Linked DNA regions of Homo sapiens: region 2 is linked to region 1. The links are contacts of gene promoters, found by promoter capture Hi-C in blood cells and fetal thymus (Javierre and others, 2016). All regions are on one chromosome and are shown on one strand. Each heading gives the region's core, a stretch centred on a gene start or on the middle of the fragment in contact. The rest is flanking DNA. Distances are from core to core; before and after follow the strand shown.

Evidence for each region. The method cuts DNA at HindIII sites, captures the fragments that hold promoters and counts their contacts. A CHiCAGO score of 5 or more calls a contact.
Region 2: a fragment that was not itself captured here is called in contact with the fragment with the promoter of ZMIZ1-AS1 in region 1 in 2 of 17 cell types (M2 macrophages and endothelial precursors); the score reaches 8.2 in M2 macrophages.

Annotation. Positions count from the first base shown.
Region 1 is chr10:79,066,099-79,068,770 of GRCh38, reverse strand. It overlaps ZMIZ1-AS1 (ZMIZ1 antisense RNA 1), which reads left to right and starts at 1,323. Exons shown (of 10, transcript NR_024431.2): 1 at 1,323-1,383; 2 at 2,185-2,323. RefSeq lists silencers at 1-24, 285-354, 1,155-1,364, 1,465-1,514, 1,555-1,764, a cis regulatory region at 1-172 and an enhancer at 46-891. The HindIII fragment of the contact is 3,772 bases long and covers 1-2,373 here.
Region 2 is chr10:78,658,788-78,661,459 of GRCh38, reverse strand. It overlaps LOC105378379 (a long non-coding RNA gene), which reads left to right. Exons shown (of 5, transcript XR_946100.2): 3 at 1,428-1,512. Among named protein-coding and RNA genes, the nearest start is that of LINC00595, 390 kb to the right of the region's middle. The HindIII fragment of the contact is 1,116 bases long and covers 805-1,920 here.

The DNA of each region.
Region 1 (2,672 bases), core at 74-2,573:
TCGCCTCTCCTCGTTCTCTCCCTCGCCTTTCCTTTCCTTTCTCTTCCTCTCTTCCTCGCTCCTCGGTCTCGGCGCTCTCCCAGCTTTTCTTCTCCTGGCTCCTGGTTCCCCGCTACGCCACCAGTCCACTCACCTCTCTCCTTGCCCTACTCCCTCCGCTACTCCCTGACGCCCCCTGCAGCCCCCAGCCCCCCTGCAGGCCCCAGCCCCAGTAAGTTTGGAGAGGGGAACAAATGCTGAGCCTAGGTAGGGACCACCTTGGGGAGGAAGCCAAAATCACACTGCTCACCCGAGAGCCCCTGCCCCGCGCTGGCACGCCCCCGCCTGGAGTGCACTCGTGGCCCCGGGCGCTGTCAGGTACCCGAATTGGGGTAAGCGAGTTGGTAACTGGACCTCCAAAGCCTTCCCCTGGGGTTGACTTTGGAATTGTTCCTACAGCCCGGGGACTGGTGGTTGGGGTGGGAAGAGGACCACCACCACCAAGGGTGACTTTGAGGGAGACTAGAGCGCGGCCCCCCGACAGCTGTGGGGGAGCGGGGGTGTGGTGGCCACAGTTGATCCGCGGCACCTAGCACAGTCCAGAGACGCGTGGATTCCCCTAGGCCCGGCGCGGAGCGCCCGGGGCGCTGTGCGCGCGGGCTGCGTGGGAGCTGCTAGGCTGGGGCCTGGCCCTCTGCCCCGGACTGGGCACTGCCAGAGATAGCGGAGAGCTAAGGTACTCACGAGGCGCAGTTGGGTGCACCCACTCGCGGGAGTTCCCCTAGCCGACCCACCCCCCCCCCCCGAGAGCATCCAACTACGCGCCCACTTTGGCTCACGTCCACTGCCACTCTCACGGAAACTCCTACAAGAACGGCACACACGTTCGCTCCCTCAGCATTGCAAACACGCTCCCCCCCAAACCACAAACGCGCCCCCACACACTCGCTTACTTTCCCTCACAAAGATGCCCGCTTACACGGCCACAGCAGGCACGCTCAGAGACACGCAGTTACACACACACATCGCTGTACACAACCCCACATACAATCAAAAAACAAAACACGAAACGTTCCCCTGGGCACTAAATCCTCACGTTAACGTACACACACAAACACACGCCCTCCTCTCCCACTTCCTCTTCCATACCCCTTCCTCGAGGCCCCCCACCCCTGATTTTCGGCACCCCCAGTCCCAATCATAATTGGCGCCCGCGCAGCCCTCTTTGGACACACACGCGCCGCCCACGCACGCGCTCCCCTCCCCGGCAGGCGGGGGCGGCTTCGGCCGGGAGCCGGCGGAGCCCGCTTCGGATTCCAGGTGTGGCAGTGACTCCGCGCTCCACGTTTTGCAGGCTGCCACCGTGTCGGAGGCGAGGCGAGGAAGGGAGCTGGAATAACAAAGGCAAGTTGGGGAGAGCGCAAGGGGGCGCAGCCCCGGCCGGGCTGCGGGGGGAGCCTTGCACGGCCGGGGCTTCGGAGGCTGCAGGGTCGGGGGCGCGGGGAGCCGGAGGTGGGGGAGGAAGGGTGGGGGGAGAGGGGCGGGGCTGAGGCGTGACGTCAGAGAACAATGACACCGCCGGGGGGCGGGCACCCGGAGGCGGCCCAGGCGGGGGTCTCCCCCGGGGCCTGGGGCGGGCCGAAGATGTCCAGGCCTGGCCGGAGCCGCCTCCTGATTGACGAGGCCCGCATGGGAGTGCGGACGTGCAGCACAGATTTGCGGGTCTCCTGGGCCTCTTGGGCGGTGATCAGCGCGGACCTTGGGCCAACCGGGGAAGCAGGCCGGAGCACTACCCCCCACCCCCATTTTAGAACATCCTTCTGAGGGCTTCGCTGACCTCGGCTTGAACTCCTTCAGAGCCGGAGAGATCACTCCTTCCACCACCGAGGGAGAGGAGGCAAAATGAATTTGCCAGCTTTGAATTCATTCTCAAGGCTCCGCTAGTCTCACAGCCAGTGAACTCAGTCTGGAATTCCTGAAAGCTCAGAAAACTGCTGCTTAGGTCCACCCGGGCGTGGGGGACGGGGTGTGTGGGGGCGCAGGCGGCGGAGTGGGGGCGTTATTTTATTTTCCCCAGGGGAAATTCTGCCTCCCTATGCCATTGGGTGCAAGAAAAGGCACTCCTTTGGGGCCTCAGTCTTCCTACCTGTCACATGGACATGGACTGTGATGACTGCTGCTCTTCCACCCCCGCCCTCCCTGTAGGTGGCAGCTGAGCATCCCTGGAGAGGGTGGGTGGTATGAAAGCACTTCCAGACCTCTAGGGACACCAGGGAGTCATGGTCCCAGCACATTGCTGTGTGATTGAGCCCCTCCTCAGCCTGTGGGTGGCCTAAGTTCACAGGTAGGTACACCAGGGCCACCTGAGAAACCTCCGAAGGTAGGAATTAAGCTTGCAGAACGGTGGCTGCAGCCACAGCTGTCCCACTCCCAGCAATCCACAGCATTGCAGCAGTGGCAGCAGCCACCCCATACCCAGGTCCAAAATCCCAAAAGAGAGTTTCTGGGTATTTAAGGATTTGGGATGTGATAATCCAGCCCAGCCCACAATTAGACCAGTTCTTGTTGCCTTAATGACCAGCTAGGTCTGGACGCCCAGCCCTCTCAACCTTTCTGTCCAGATTCCTCAATAAGTATCCAGGGCCTGCCCACTTCCAGGAATTGGGGGATGCAGGTGACCTCGGAGGTGACCA
Region 2 (2,672 bases), core at 113-2,612, 410 kb after region 1:
CTAGTGAGAGAATCAGACATTTATAAAGAAACTCTTAGGGCTATATAATTATCAGCCCTAATGACTGCTCTCACAGACTATCCCAGGCTGTCCTAGAAGCAGAAAAAGCAGACTAAATCTAGTCTGCAGGCAGGGAACCAGTCCAGGAGGAAGTGACATATAAGCTGTGATATAAAGGATGCACTGGAATTAACTAAGTCAAGTCAAGGGAACAACTTCCATAAATGACATGTCCAGTGAGACTCTATTGTGTATAGATTTGGGTGTTTCCAGCTTAGAATGGAAAGGAGTGGGGAAATTCCTTAAAAGGGCTGATCAAAACAGAAATGTGACACATTTTGTTTTCATCAATAAATGGGCTTATATAAATATACAGAAAGCATCAAAATATTTATCGTATCAAAGTTTCCGAGACTGCTGGAGCAATGACTATTTCTCATGGAGGAAATCAGAGTTGATCCAGGTTCTTGCTTTTCATGAGTGGACTCTCCCAGCATTTTAAGAGCAGCGGGTGAGTCGGTCTTCCAAGCAGAAGCTGGACACGAGCCCTGGTTAACCTTAAATGGACTCTCTCCCCTCATCCTCTCTCCCTGCCCATGACCCTTCCTGAGGGCCACTGTTTCTCTGCTCGCAGAGAGGATAGAAGGCAAGACACGAGGGAGATGCAGATTCATAAACTTTACAATTATTCTAATGCTTTCCAAGTGTGTTAAATAGCAAAGTCATTTCATTAAATGTTCATAAGTGTTATGTGGGTTCAGAATGCAATAATTTTGGCAAATGGATCAAACAGTTATGCAAGCTTTTGTTGTAGGCCTTATCAGAGCCTTTGATATTTTGTAATGTGCACTGTAAGTCTCTAATTGAGGATACAACTTGCAATATTTTCCAAACATATTTGACCACAAAACATGCTTTCCCTGGAATATTTCTTGGGTGTGTTATGTTTCAGAATTCATCTTGGTAAATACTGTTTAAATGAGTAACTGAAAGTTAGGGTTTAAAAGTCAAATGGATTGGGCCAGGCATGGTGGCTCACGCCTGTAATCCCAGCACTTTGGGAGGCTGAGGCAGGTGGATCACGAGGTCAGGAGTTCGAGACCAGCCTGGCCAACAGGCTGAAACCCCATCTCCACTAAAAATACAAAAATTGGCTGGGCATGGAGGTACACACCTGCAATCCCAGCTACTCAGGGAGGCTGAGGCAGGATAATCGCTTGAACCCGGGAGGCGGAGGTTGCAGTGAGCCAAGATCGTGCCACTGCATTCCAGCCTGGGTGACAGAACGAGACTCCATCTCAAAAAAAGAAAAAAAAAAAGAAAAAGGTGAAATGGATCTTAGAGGCCACCTTGTCTAAACTTCCACCTAGAGAGGAATATGAATAAAAACCCACTGAGCTAAATTCATTTCTTTTACATTATTCCAGGCATATCTCTTACACTGTGAATGTTGTTAAGTTGTAGGAGAGAAAAGTGCTGTAAAGGAATAAGGATATCCCTGCATTTTACCAGGTAACTATGGGTAAGTCCCTACTCTGGCCTTCAGTTTCTCTAGAGGTTCAATGAATACCATGCATCTTTGGGTTGCTGAAGATTCAATGCTGTATGAAAAGCACCTGATACTGAGCAAGTTACTAGATTTCCCCCTTCCCACCCTGAAAAATAAGCATCATGCTTTACATAAATACTGCATGCAAATATTCTATATGCAATATGCAAATATTCAAGACATTTTTTACAATGTTGGGTTTTGTCCTTGTCCCTAAGGGAACATATTAATGCAAAGTAAAACACTCTGTTCAATTCTGCTGGTTTAGATGATGGCTCATTCTCCCAGGAAGCTCTATTTTATAACCTGGTGTTAAACTTCATTAAATACAAATACTCTGGAGTTTATCATCCTTTATAGGAACCTAAGCTTCAGAATTACAACATTTCAAAGTTTGGGCTCCCTTATGTTTTAGAAAAGTAGAAATAGACTCTACAAGGGGAAGTGACTTGTGAAAGGTTACCACATGAGCTAGAAGCAATTGCAACCCCAGGTAAGCTAGTCATGTCTAGCCTGGGGCCTTTTCTCCAAATCAGCAACTCCTCATTTCTTTTCTTGGAAACTTAAGCTCCAGCATGCTGAAGTGTTTGCTCTTGAATTCTCTTACCTCTGGAAACCAGGAAACTCGATGGATTTTTGTCTTCTCACTTATTTGAGAAGATGCAGTTTGTTGAAAAGAGAATATATGTCAACAATCTGAGTTGGGTGTTTTATGCCAAACAGAGGATTCAGCGTGTTTTATGCCAAACAGAGGATTCAGCATGTTTTAGTGGGATTTGAACTGGAGTCCAAGCTGGGCACAGTCCTCTCTCTTTCTGCAACTAATGAGAAAGGAAGTAAAACATGCTCGACTGTAGGCAAAAGTCTCCTTTCTGTTGTACACACAGGGGAACAGGTGCCAGGCCATGGCCCTGACAGTTATGCAAATCAGTTGTGCAGATTTTAAAAACAAAAACAAAGGTAAACTGACTCTATCTGAGCATAACATTTTATGCAACATGAGCATAAATAACAAGATTCTTCGCTTCTTACTCTCTGGTACTCACGCAGGTGACAGCTTCGGCAGCACTGTGGGCGGAGCCATAACAGACTGGAGCTTGTGGGTCCGGCTTCTAAAGTTGCT